Linked DNA regions of Homo sapiens: region 2 is linked to region 1. The links are contacts of gene promoters, found by promoter capture Hi-C in human tissues and cell types (Jung and others, 2019). All regions are on one chromosome and are shown on one strand. The core of a region is centred on a gene start or on the middle of the fragment in contact, and the rest is flanking DNA. Distances in the headings are between cores, read along the strand shown.

Evidence for each region. Contacts are between HindIII fragments. The study calls those that stand out against the background at their distance.
Region 2: a contact is called between a fragment that was not itself captured here and the fragment with the promoter of SCUBE3 in region 1, in 6 of the 25 tissues and cell types used here (IMR-90 fibroblasts, bladder, dorsolateral prefrontal cortex and 3 more).

The regions. Positions count from the first base shown.
Region 1 is chr6:35,209,658-35,216,826 of GRCh38, reverse strand. It overlaps SCUBE3 (signal peptide, CUB domain and EGF like domain containing 3), which reads right to left and starts at 2,871. Exons shown (of 22, transcript NM_152753.4): 1 at 2,324-2,871. The coding sequence starts at 2,408. LOC112267955 (a long non-coding RNA gene) reads left to right here and starts at 3,147. Exons shown (of 3, transcript XR_002956343.1): 1 at 3,147-4,198. RefSeq lists a silencer at 2,738-2,847. The HindIII fragment of the contact is 11,734 bases long and covers 1-7,169 here.
Region 2 is chr6:35,114,092-35,121,011 of GRCh38, reverse strand. TCP11 (t-complex 11) reads left to right here. Exons shown (of 10, transcript NM_001370687.1): 6 at 1-103; 7 at 366-583; 8 at 672-853; 9 at 1,621-1,784; 10 at 2,511-2,937. The coding sequence ends at 2,743. Among named protein-coding and RNA genes, the nearest start is that of TCP11, 24 kb to the left of the region's middle. The HindIII fragment of the contact is 6,471 bases long and covers 685-6,920 here.

The DNA.
Region 1 (7,169 bases), core at 1,622-4,121:
GAAAAGGGACAGAAACCCAGATACCCCCAGAGGTATAGTAACTCCGTGCAAGATACTTGCCAAGGGTATTTGATTTTAAAGACCTGCTAGTGCTTTATATAAAGCATGTGGCATTAAAGGCACACTTTCTGGCACTGCTGATAACCAGGAGATATGTTTGAAGGTAAGGCCTCCCTGATGCTCACAGACTGTGTCTATGGGTAAGGCTGTAAGGTTGCCCCGCCTGGTCAGTACTAGTTCTTCCTGCAGCATCTGCCTGCAAGTTTGTGTCCAGAGACATCCCTGTAACCCAGCAAACCTGCTATTAGGCAACCTCTGGCAGATGGGGTTTGTAGATTTCCTGAAGAGAAGGGTCAATGAAAGGCTTCCATTCTAGGCCAAGCTTAGGGATCAGAAGAAAAGAAGGAGGATACCAAGCTAACTGCGGTCCAGTCACAGGAAGGGTGGCCTGTGAATGAGATAAGCTGGGGACAAAAACTACTCTAAGTTCCTTGAGGGCAGGGGCCTTCACTCTGGCAGCATGTTCCTCAGTACCCAGCAGGGAGTCCAATGAAAGTGGAAGCCCTGGAGTACCATGCAGGGATTCTGACTCCCGTTCCTGAATCATGAGCTGATCTCCCATACTTGAGTGCCTTGGCTTGATGGCACCTGTCCCTTGGAGGGGTCTCCATCTGCCCCTGGGCCCCCCTCGAATACACTGCTTCTCCTTTGGTCCACAGCCTCACTAGGCCACTACAGACACTGGCTCCAACTTGAAAGAGGCCCTTATCTTGTCTCTAGGTTACTTCATGATATCTGTTCCTTCCTTCAGACTAAACTCCCCACCTAATTCCATGTTATGAGTAAGTCAGCACACACTACAAAAGCCAGCTTTGTTTATGAAAACACAAATCCACAGTGAGGAGAGGGGCTGCTCCCAGGTTGGGGGTGGCAGTGGCGATGCGCTGTCTGGAACCAGGACTGGAAAAGAGGCAGTGTGGGGCTGGAAGGTGTGGGGGCAGGGTCCAGTATTTGACAGCTGAGGATCTCTAGTGTTTCAGTTCTGTGAAAGGACAGGTTGGAGGGGGAAGAGGTTAGCTGAAGAGGCAGTGTTTGGGGAGAGGAGGGCGGCATTGATACAGCACCTTCCTCTTCACAGAGCAGGAGCCCATCCAATACAACAGAGCAGCTTAAGAGCCAAACGCTCAGGCTCTGGGACACAGCGACCTGTGTCGGACACTCAGGCTTCCCCAACTCCCAAGTTCAACTTTCCTTCTGGCCCAGCCATCTCCTCACCCAGCTGGCTTCAGGAGCCCCTGGGACAATAGGCAGAATCATACTCTCCTGGGCAAAACCTTGCCAGGAGGAATTTTCTTTTTGTCCATATAAATCTCTTGTCGGTGAGGACACGATGGGGGAGGGGTACAGCAAGAGGTCAAGGGGGAGGAGAAACTGTCCCGAGAGAACTGTAGTACATCAGCCTAGTCTCTGCCTGCACAGCCTTGGGACCTGCCAGGCGATGAGCTGGGGGTCAGGGACGGGGGCGGGAGGCCTCCCTGTCTCTCTTTAATTCCTAGAGGGATCTGTCAGAGCTCCCCGGCCTGGAATTCTACTTTGTTATTTTAATGCAATTCTGACCTGGATTTAAATGGAATTGGAAACCCGAGGCCTTAATAAATAAATATTATGATAAGAAATGAAAGCCATGCAAGACGAAAGAGATTTCACCCCAAAGAGGCAGAAACGCAACATTCCTGTCGGGAGCCAGTCACAGAAATTTTCTTCTCTTCTTCAGCCCCCTACCATCCGGTGAGAGATGAGTTGATTTTTCCATAAAAGATCCTATTTTTCTTCAACATTTTTCCACTGATAAGGCATCAACTTAGAAATGTCTAACTTTGCATGCGGGTTGGGGGTAAGGGAAAGAAATATACGGCACGGCTGAAAAGTTTTCATTATTCCCTCAGTCTCTCCAGGCCACAGCGTAAGTTTCTGGCAATGTTTGAGAGAAGAGAAAATTCTCTCTCAGATTTTGGAAGACAAGAAGTCTTTCGAAGATGCTGGGAGTGGATGAAGTCGAGCGGAATTCTGAGGCGCGTGGTCTCTTCTGCCCACCGCCCCCAAGAGTTTCTCACTCCTCTCTGCCGCCCCCAGCTTGTCCGGCTTTTCGCTCGGGGCGCAGCGCCCAGCGGTCGGGCCCCTGGCCGGGGAGTCCGGGTGCACAGAGCCGGGTTCTGACAGCAGCACGCTCCCCAGCACCTGCCCTGCCCCTCGGGAATCGCTCCTAGGCCCTGAGGCCCAGCAGCCAGGACAGCCCCCAGGCCGCGCGCCCCTCCTTCCTTACCTTGCGCGGCTTTGCTGTACTGGGCGGCGCGGGCGTGGACCAGCAGGACAAGCAGGCAGAGCCCGGGTACGCGCCCCGAGCCCATGGCTGGAGCTACTGGCGGCCCAGCCGCCGGGGCCGGTCTCGCGGCCAGGGGAGGGCGGAAGCCGGCCGGATCCCAGCTCGCAGGAGGGGGAGGGGAGGGGGCGCCCCGCCGGGGCCAGGCCGGGGGCTGCAGTCGCGGGGCGCGGACCGCGGCGCCCTCGGCGCGAGGCTCCCGATGCTACCGGCTCCTCCTGGCCGGACGTCGGGGAGAGCGAGGCGGAGAGTGCGACGAGGCGAGGGGCGCCAGGGGCGACTGACGGAGGGGAACCCCCGCCCTCTCCAAGCCGGCCTCTGCCAGCGGCGGCGGCGGGGCTGCTCCGTGTAATCCCACCCAATTCCCAGCTTCGCCGGGAGAGAGCTGCAGCCGGAGAGCGCGCAGAGCCCGAGCGAAGGACCTGAGAAAGGGGAGGGGAAACGCAGCGCCAGAAACACGCCCTTTCTGCCTCTCTTTCTTCCTCTCTCGCTCTTTCTCCGTCTCTCAGGCTCTTTTTCTTCGCCTTTCTCCTCCTCCTCCTCTTTCTCCTCCTCTCCTCGCTCCTTTTCGTTTTCTTCCTCCTCCCCCTCCTCCTCCTCCTCCTCCTCCTCCTTCTCCACCACCTCCTTTTTCGTGCCCTTTTTTCTTTCAAATGGGGCCTCGGCGCGGTGGCCGCTCCCCCTGCGCGCCCGGGCGCGGTGGCCCCCTCCCCAGGCTGCCGGGCCGCTGCCTGCAGGAATTTACAATCCGGCGATGGGGGAGCGGGCCTGGTCTCCATGGAGACGGCTTCCCCGGGAGCAGGGAGGTCAGGCGCAGACCGCGCGCAATCAATGGATCAATGCAAGCTCCGCTCGGCTCCAGACCAAACAGCACCGGGCTCCGACTCGTCCTCGCTCCCCTAGGAAAGAGTCGGGGAGCGAGGGTGCGTCCCCGCGCTCGCTCGCGAGGACGGCCGTGCGGCGCCAGGTTTGAACGCACACCTCCACCCGAGACAAAGAGGGTGCGAGGTGTTGGGGAGGCTGGGGCAGACGTGGACACACGGACACACGGGCACTCGGGCGTGTCCACCGACACAGCCTGACAGGGGACATAGGACCTCGGAACACACCGCCTCCGACACCAGGCCGAGTAACAACCTCTCAACTTTTACACCTACCACACCCCCAACCTCAAGACTCAGTCCCCATTCCTAGATGCGAGTCCACTTTGAGGACCAAAAAGAAAGTAGCCTCCGCCTGCTAAAACTGCCAGCTCCAGGGCAGACTCCCTTGCAGTTAAGGCCTTGGAGGTAAGCCTAATGAACCACCCTACCCGCAGAGACATGGACTCACATACAGACACTCTCATGTGGTCAGCACAGGGGCGAAAGCTACCCCACAGAATCATGTCTATGTGTATAAACACAGAGACATAGAGACAGGTACAAGAGGCTCCTCCAAACCTGCACCCCGCTTCAAGAGGTGGTCCTGACTGGTCCATTCTGAACCCTTCATCCTTCCAACTGAGGGGAAGCAGAGGAAAGAGAAAGGATATTTTTAAAACAGGGGCAAACCGCAGAAGGAGCAGGGTCTTCCAACCATGGATGCTGCCTCTTGACTGTTCACCCACTCTGTATCTTCTTTCCTTCCATTGTAAGGGAAAGAGGAAAGACCTCTTGAAAGGCTATGAAGACTTTCTTGGAGTGTGAGGCTGTGTTCAGAATGAGACCAGGCCAGGTCCAGTTTTCTACAGGGAAGATGCTGCTAGGACCCAGACTAGCCTCACAGAGCCCTCAGCGTACCCAGGAGGAAGAGGCAATGACCAAGATCTCCTCAAAGGTGATTCAGTTCTGAGACCTTCCATATTGGCTGCCCACATCAGCTGGGGCAAGGGGAGGACTTTGTTGGCAATGGTGCTGTCCACCAGGGAGAAGAGCTGAGCCCTTCCTTTCCTAGGGATTCAGTGGAAAAGTAGGATGGAAACAGACTCAAACTTCTTATCCTGGGATGAAGATTACTTTTGAACAAGTCATATGTCAATGGGCCTCAGTTTCCTCAGAAAACAAGAGGGTAGTGGATTCACTCAGTGGTGGAAAGGGGGCAGTGCCCCAAGGAAGCCTGGGGGAGGAGTCCTGGAGAACCTTGCATAGCATCAAAGATGACCTTTGGGATGGGAGCACATAGATCATGGGAATGGTGTGGAGGCCACAGCAAGGCTGGGTCAGATGATTGAGGTCCCTCCCATCCTTGTCACTCTAAGATGCCCTCCCTCCTTCATTCCACTGGCAAAACCCTCCCCTTGCAGCGGTTTTGCCTGCTGCCACCAATTATGTGTAGGGTTGGAGGACAAGTGTAAATTTGCCATCTTTTTTGCCCCCAACAAGAGAATGGTTTCAAAAAAGGAGAAAGAAGTGGAGGTTGCCGGACGGTGTCTGTGATCTCCATGGGGGCACAGAGAGAGAGAGCCGAGGAGCTCCCCCACGGCTGGGAGGGGAGATGGCACGCTGCCTTGCTTTGCTCTGCCTCTGCCTTCTTTGGACACTAGTGTAGCTCCTCCGGGTCCCTGGGGGGTTGGAGGGAGGGCCCCTACATCCTCCTTGAGGTGGGCAAGGAGGATTCTATAGGGGGATTATGGGTTATTTGGGGCCTTCAGTTCAGGGTGATTTCCCGGCCCTCTGAGTACGGATATTGCCCTGGCTTTCAGGGAGGGAGGTTTGGTGGGTTCTTCCACCTAAGCCACTATGTCTCTGGAAGATTGATTTTTATGCCCCGTAGTTGCCTTTTATCTCATCCTACCAGTTTTCCTCTGATGATTTCCTCTTTTCCTCTTGGACCAGATGAGCTACTCCTCCACATCTGGGCAAAAAGAGGCAGTTCCCTGCTCTTCTCTCCTGCTGCCACTCACCCAATCTGATTCCAGAGTACCCTCAGCCCTTCAGACTATTCTACAGGAGTAGAAGCAGGGCTTATATCACCAGGACACTGTGAATTGAGGTGCTGGTCCAATTCATATTGCCTTTTGCCCTGTCCTCTTCTGCAGGGACTCAGTTGGACAGTAACTCAGGAAGATGACAGGGAAGGAACAACAAGATGGCACTTGCAAGTGGTACTACAAAAGCAGCAGCAGCACGTGCCATATCATAACCAGCAGGGGCAAAATGTCCAGTGGGCTCTGGGCCTCCTACACGCACCTCTAAGGTTGCAGTTTGCTTTGGGGCTTCATTTTCCTTCAGGGATGCTTCTGACATTTGTTTCATTCTACTTGCTCCTGAAAATGTCTGAGGAGAAGACTGGCAGGGGTCAGGGATCCCCTAGCTGATAGATCTTGGTTCAGTCCTGTTTAGGGATCCTTCTGCCAGGGCCCACCAGGCTCAGGGGTTTCCCCTCCCCTGCAAAGTCTCCTTCCATGAGCGTTGCTTTTTCTTTCTGCTCCTCAGTTTCCCTATATATAAAATGAGTCCAATGACCCTACCTCGATGGGCAGTGCCATATAGTCTAATGGAGAGCACATACAAGCTGGAAGTAGATTGCCCTGAGATCATTGTTAGGCCCTACCATTTCCCAGCCATCTATTTTTCTTGGTGAGTTGTTTCACTTTTCTGAGCCTCAGCTTCCTCACCTGGAAAATAGATATGGTTATATGACCTCAAAAGTGTCCGTCCATCAGTGTCTGTGTGGGCTCTAAACAAACCTGCAATTCAAATCTCAGCTCTGGTGCTTTCTACCTCTGTGACTTCAGGGAAATTACTCAATCTCAGGGAGTTTCAGTTTTCTCATCTGACATAGGGGATAAAAACCTCGTAGGGTTATTGGTGTTAATTAAATGAGATAATATATAGAAAACACCTGGCACTGGCACATGTAGGCATTTAATAGGTAGAGGCTATTGTTGTTCTTTCCACTACTTCTCAGAAGAACAAAAGCCCAAGTGTTTGGGGCCAGCTGCAGTGGCTCACACCTGTAATCCAAGCACTTTGGGAGGCCAAGGTGGGCAGATCACTTGAGGTCAGGAGTTTGAGACCAGCCTGACCAACATGGTGAAACCCTGTCTCTACTAAAAATACAAAAATTAGCCAGGTGTGGTGGTGCACGCCTGTAATCCCACCCACTTGGGAGGCTGAGGCAGGAGAATCACTTGAACCTGGGAGTTGGAGGTTGCAGTGAGCCGAGATTGTGCCACTGCTCTGACCTGTGCGACAGAGCTCAAAAAAAAAATAAAAATAAAAAAGCCCAAGGGTTTGATAACAAAGGTATAGTAGTGGCTGGTGGGAAGAAGCAGCCTTGTCCCAGATTAGGCTTTGATGCCACTGGGTGTGAGCACAGCCAACTGGGCTAGATTCTCACCACCCCCAACAGGTTCCTGTCTGTCATACATACCTACTGAGAAGGTTCCAAAAATTCCATGCATTCCAGCACACTGCCCTTGTCATCAGCACTTATACATTATGCAGTTAGAAGAATATTCACTTGCCCACTAGGTAGCTCTGGAGTCTCTCCATCCCTACTGTCTTGCACCTCCTACTCTACCTTAAGAAGACATAGACACCCCGAGACACAAATTAGAGCTCATAGCTACCATTTACCAAGTGCTTTCTATGTTCCAGGCACTATACCAGGCACTCCATCACGAGCCTGTAAGGCAGGAATTGTTATCCCCATTTTATTGGTGGGAAAACTGAGGCTCAGGTAGATTAACTTACCCAGGATGACAGACTAAGAAAGAAGAAAGCCAGGACTTGGGGCCAGGCCTGACTCTGAAGCTTGTATACCTCCTCAGCTGTCTACACTGCCTCCTCTGAATTCACAGAGA
Region 2 (6,920 bases), core at 2,671-5,170, 97 kb after region 1:
GACATGGTGAACTACACTATCCAGAGCCTTCAACCCCACCTGCAGGAACATTCCATTCAGTATGAACGGGCTAAATTCCAGGAACTCCTCAATAAGCAGCCTAGTATGTATATAATGTGAGGGCAGGAGTGGGAAAGGTATTACCTTGGGTCTGACTTTTATAATGTTAGAGAGTACTCTATCTCTTTTTAGGAATAGAAAGTTGCTTATTAGGTGAAGGGAGGGAGAAGGAACATTTATCTAAGACAGAAAGACCCTCAAAGCATTTATTTATTGACCAGGAGTATACTTGAAAAGAACCTTGGTCTTGAAGCCTCAGAGATGAAGATGCTAAAGATGCTTACACACTCCCTTACCTGTCATAGGTCTCCTTAATCACACCACCAAATGGCTGACCCAAGCAGCAGGAGACCTCACCATGTCACCTCCGACTTGCCCAGACACTTCTGACTCCTCCAGTGTGGCTGGCCCCTCTCCCAATGAGGCAGCCAACAACCCAGAGCCCCTCAGCCCCACAATGGTGCTGTGTCAGGGCTTCTTGAACCTCCTTCTCTGGGACCTTGAAAATGAAGAGTTCCCTGAGGTAGGAATGTCTGGGGGCATTGCCTTGTTTTGTGTTCAGGGCTTCCATCGGGACTTCCCCTGACAGCCTGTTCTTCCCTGGTTCCCAGACCCTGCTGATGGACAGAACCCGGCTGCAGGAGCTGAAGTCCCAGTTGCACCAGTTAACCGTCATGGCCTCAGTCTTGCTGGTGGCCAGTAGTTTCTCCGGCAGTGTTTTGTTTGGCTCACCCCAATTTGTAGATAAACTGAAACGCATAACCAAATCCTTGTTGGAAGACTTTCACTCCAGGTGAGCTGCATAGTTACTTTTTAGAGTAGAAGGTGATATGTGGTATTTAGAACATAGGCAGGTAATGAACGATTGCTTACTGTCTACCACAAACCACAGAAAGGCCCTGTGGAACCATCTACAAAGATTGTTGGTTTCTTTCCATAAGTGGTCATGAGGGTGTAACAAAAAAAAACCTTTCTTCCAAAAAGGGTGTGGAAGATAGTTTGCTGCAAAAGGGTCATTATCTAGTTGAGTGGTGACTGTGGGCTGGTATCATCACATATATCCAGGACTTGGTCAGTCGGTCAGCAATATTTATTGAACATCCCGCTGTGTGCAGGCCATCACACCAAAGGAAAAAGAGGAATCAGAAGGCCAGGTTGTAGTTATAACTGATGAGGTGGGACAGATGATTCTGGAAAATGCCTAAGAAAGTCTTAAACATATATATATAAAAATAAAGTCCATGGGACTAAAGAATGCTGAGTGGATCCAAGAGCACAACTAAATACTTTTCCAGAGTTGATTTTATCATTTACCTTGTTTGCTAAGAAGTAGAACACAGTGCCACATATAGAGAATAGCTGGTGTCTTGAGGGTTACAGTGAGGACATTGTACCTACCCACTGGGCCCTATAGCCTGCCAGGGGCTGGGGTTTAGGGGTGGAGAGGGTGGCTGACATTCTCCCTCAAGTGGGCCTGGCATCTGGTATACAGCATGCTGGGCCCTGGGCCTATGCCAGGGTTACCTGGTGGGTGCCAGCTTACTTTCTTTCATGGTCTAGGCCTGAGGAAGCTATACTGACTGTGAGTGAACAGGTATCTCAGGAAATCCATCAAAGCCTCAAGAATATGGGCCTTGTTGCTCTAAGCAGTGATAATACAGCATCTCTAATGGGACAGCTCCAGAACATTGCCAAGAAGGAGAACTGTGTCTGCAGTGTTATTGGTGAGTATGCTTGTGGGGTAGTAAGAATGGTGAGGGAAGAGATAGATCCCAACCGTGGAACCCCAACCTTTAACAACATGAAGCATGGTCATTAGGTACGTCATTGTTTAGCCTTGATTTTTTTCAAAATGCTGGGTTGAAATCATATCCGTCTCAGTTTAAAGACTAACTGTGGTTCTCAGGATGATTTGCACCCAGAAATTCATGACTTCTAGGTGTGGGATATGTCCAGCCGACCTGGTTAAGTCACTTGGGCCTACAGGTCATTCTCTGATGGCACCCAAGAAATCTGACATTCCCCCATCTCCCAACAAGAAACTAATGCTGAATTTAGCTGGAAGACATGTTCCTATAGTGGGGAATCCCCTACCCTCATGCTGGAGTGGAGGCCATGAACTTGGCCAGCCTGCTCCTAACCTTAGCCATCTGAAGGATCAGTCTAAGTTCCTCCTGTTATGTCAAACACTCACTAGGATCTAACTGATGGCTACTTAAACAATCTTTTGAATAATCTGAAATTTACTAACACACTAGTTTTTTATATTTGTCCTTGAGAGCAAGATAGCAGCCCCCTTTCCAAACAAAACAAATTTCATTATCTCTAGGTAGGGGGGCAGGTTGGTACATATCTGTTAACTTAGAACATGGGTGAGTAGAGTGCAGGGGGAATTTTCTCCCTGAAATCTGTTTGCCTTTTCCCTTATCAGTGTCTTTTCCTGCTCACAGATCAGCGGATCCATTTGTTTCTCAAATGCTGTTTGGTTCTTGGTGTGCAGCGGTCTCTATTAGACCTTCCTGGAGGCCTTACTCTCATTGAAGCAGAACTGGCAGAACTGGGCCAAAAGTTTGTCAACTTGACACATCACAATCAGCAGGTGTTTGGTCCCTACTACACTGAGATCCTAAAAACCCTCATTTCCCCAGCCCAGGCACTGGAAACAAAAGTGGAGTCTGTTTGATAGCGTCGGCTCAGAGCCCTGGTACCTTGGACCCAAGAGGAGGCCCATCATCTTCCTGGAGTAACATCACCAGTGACCAGCAGACAGTGAGCTTCTATCCCAGGCCCTGCAGCCAGTACACCAAGGCTGTAGGGATCAAGCATGTAAACACCAACTGGTCCATACCCATTCATTAATAAACTTCTTAAGTGCAAGAAATCCTCCATTTTTCCTGTGCTGCAGCTGAGGCCAAGCCCTAATGACTTCAGCCCTCAACTAGCTGAGAAGCCAGCAAGCCCTCAGTTTTCCCCTCTCTGGCTATGTGTACCTTTCAACATATAGAGCTGAACAGCCAAGATACCCAGGTGCTAGCCTTATTTTCTTTAAGGGTAAAGCATTACTCCTGGGGAGCTCTTAGACCTCTGGAATTATCCAAATTGTGAATATAAGGGTTTCTTTTGGAAGCCTTTGTTTTGTCCAGTTCACCTCAGGAGAGGACATGGTTTAGGGAAGTTAGTTCATTTCTAGGACCAAATTTCCCTAAAGGTTTCAGAGAATGCAACAAGAAGTCAAGGGATATTAAGAGCCTTAGTTTCCTCTTCTGTTGCATGGTCTGAAGCAATATGCATACCCGGGGCTGGATGAAAATGGATATTGGCTACAAGCAAGCATTCTGTTGAGGACAAGTTCAGAGTTCATGGGACCTCTCTCTCAAGTTATCCAGAGTTCAGACTTGGACAGTTAGGTCTGTGACTCACTTGTATCAAGTTTATTCTGGTCCTGTTCTCTAGCCCAGTAAGTCTCCTTTCCCTCATCTCTAAGCTTAGAACACCCGGTTTTTCCAGGCAGAGGTGATGTGGGCATTCAGAGGTGGAGCAGCCTCCATCCTTCTGGCTTCTCCATTCTGGGCAGTTGTGGTTGTAAGCTGTTGTTGGCATCACAAATAAGAGAGGTTCTAGGAAGGATTTGGGCTTGTCTCCTGAGATTGTAGAGACCAACTCATTTTCAGGCTGACTGCAGCAGACCAGCTCCAACCTAGTATGGCTGAAATGAAGAAAATGTTCAGTTCAGATTTAGAAAATGGAAATTCAATTATGTGTTCTCAAGGCAAGGTGAAGAAAAACAATGTTCTCATCATTTTAGGTGATGGAAGTTGCTGAGTGTTAACACACCTAATCTAGGAAGAACAACAGAAGGGGGATTTGAGTTCCATTAGGCCCAGTGTTTCCTTCTAATTGATTTCCTTTTTTAGAGGGTAGATCCTAGGTAGGTGACAGAGCTAGATCAACACAATGTGACTTTTACTATGACTAGAAAAGCTGGAGGGCCTGGATCATTTGCATTTTTCGTCTTATAACTAGACAGCTTCAGGATGGGGAAGCCCAGATAAAGTGGTATGTTTAATAAACAGTGAGGCTTGCCCAGTTGGATTCTCTGATTTGTAACTATTAATTTGAATTTTTAAAAAATCCACGTTTTGGAAACCTCATTATTTTAGAGGTAAAAGTACTCTGAAGGGATTCCTGGGAAGAAGATTGTCCAGTTGGCAGGTGCAGACCCTGGACTGATAATAGAACCTTGCTTTGTACTTCACAATTAAAATAGGGACTCATCAGTACCTTAGAAAATTTGAATTTATTTTCTTATGCTTTCTCATGGAGGAGACAGGGATCTTGTCCCTAAACAAGGAAAGATAGCTCCATTCAATCCTGCCCACTGGTTTGAGGGAATTTTAAAAAAATGTATATTTGTATTTTAAATTGTGGAGAAAATACATGTAATATGAAAGCTATTAGTGACATTGAGTACATTCAGAATGTTGTACAGCCATCACGACTAACTAGTTCTAGAACATTTTCATCACCACCAAAGGAAATCCCATTCCAGTAACCAGTCACTGCCCATTTTCCCCCATTCCCTTCCCCTGGCAACCACTAATCTTTCTGTCTCAATGGGCTTTCTGACTCTGAATATTTCCTATAAATGGAATCATATAATATGTAGCTTTTTGTGACTGGCTTCTTTCACTCATTTTTCAACATTCATTTGTGTTCTAGCATGTATTGGTAGTTCATTCTTTTTATAGCTAAGTAATATTCTGTCACATGAATATACCACATTTTGCTTATCCACTCATTAGTCCATGGGTATGACTTCAGCCCTCAACTAGCTGAGAAGCCAGCAAGCCCTTAGTTTTCTCTTCTCTGGCTATGTGTACCTTTCAACATATAGAGCTGAGCATTTTGGCTTTTGTAAACAATGCCACAGTGAACACTTGGCGTTATTTACAAAACTCATACATAAGTTTTTGTTTGAACACCTGTCTTCTATGTTTTTGAGTGTCTACCCATATATCCAGGAATAGAATTGCTGAGTTCTATGGTAATCCCTGCTTAATTTATTGAGAAACTACCATTTTGAGTTAGTATTTGTATATGGTGTAAGGAACAGATCCAGCTTTATTCTTTTGTATGTGGACATCCAGTTTTCCTAGCATTATTTGTTGAAGAGACTGTCCTATTCCCATTGATGAATGGTCTTGGTCTTTGACTGTTGTCAAAAATCGATTGACCATATATGCAAGGGTTTATTTCTGGACTCTATTTTATGCCATTTATCTATATGTTTATCCTTATGCCAGTAAGATATTGTTTTGATTACTGTAAGCTTTGTAAGTTTTGAAATTAGGAAGTATAAGTTCTCCAGCTTGGTTGTTTTTCAAGATTATGTGGCTATCCCTTCCATTTCCATATGAATTTTAGGATCCATTTCTGTAAAACAGGAAGTTGGAATTTTTGATAAGGAGATATATATATATAAATTTGGGGAGTATTGCTATCTTGTCTTCCCATCCATGAACACAGAATGTCTTTTCCTTTTGTTAGGTCTTTAATTTCTTTCAGCAACCTTTTATAGTTTTCAGTGTACAAGCCTTGCACTTCCTTGGTTAAATTTATTCCTAAGTATTTTATTCATTTGGATGTAATTGTTAATAGAATTGTTCTCTTAATTTCTGTTTCGTATTGTGCATTGGCAGTGTATAAAAGTAAAACCAATTTGTTTGTTGATCTTGTACCCTGCAACTTCACTGAGTTTATTATATCAAATACTCTGTGAATTCTTTAGTATTTTCTACATATGAGATCATGTTATCTGAGAATAGGAATAGTTTTGCATTTTTTTTTCCTAATTCTGATCCCTTTTATTTATTTTTCTTGCCTAATTTCTCTGGCTAGAACTTCCAGTACAATGTCTAATAGCAGTGATAAAAGCACTTGTCTTGCATCCTGATCTTAGGGGGAAAGCTTTCAGTCATTCACCATTGAGTATACAGTTAGCTATGGATTTTTCATAAATACCTTTTATCGTGTTGAGGAAGTTGTCTTCTATTTAGTTTGCTCACAATTTTTTTTTTTAATCATGAAACGGTATTGAGTTTTTTGTTTGATTTTTTTTTTTTTCTTTTTTTGTAGATAGGGTCTCGCTCTGTCACCCAGGCTGGAGTGCAGTGGGGCGATCACGGCTTACTGTAGCCTTGACCTCCTGGCCTCAAGTGATCCTCCTGCCACAGCCTTTTGAGTAGCTGGGACTATAGGCGTGTGCCATCATGCCTGGCTAATTTTTGTATTTTTTGTAGAGATGAGGTCTCACTGTGTGGCCCACACTGGTCTCAAATTCCTGGGCCCAAAAGATCCTCCCATCTTGGCCTCCTAAAATGTTGAGATTACATGCATGAGCCACCACACTTTGCCTTGGATTTTGTCAAATGCTTTTTCTGCATCAATTGAGATAATCATATGCTTTTCTTCCTTCAGTCTATTAATGATATGTTGTTTGATTTTCTTTTTTTTTTTTTTTTTTTGAGATGGGGTTTCACTCTATCGCCCAGGCTGGAGTGTAGTGGCACGATCTCGGCTCACTGCAAACTCCGCCTCCCAGGTTCATGCCATTCTCCTGCCTCAGCCTCCCGAGTAGCTGGGACTACAGGCACCCGCCACCATGCCCGGCTAATTTCTTTTTGTATTTTTAGTAGAGACGGGGTTTCACCGTGTTAGCCAGGATGATCTCGATCTCTTGACCTCGTGATCTACCTGCCTCGGCCTCCCAAAGTGCTGGGATTACAGGCGTGAGCCACCGCACCCGGCCTTGATTTTTCTTATATTGAATCAATACTGCATTTGTGGGATAAGTCCCATTT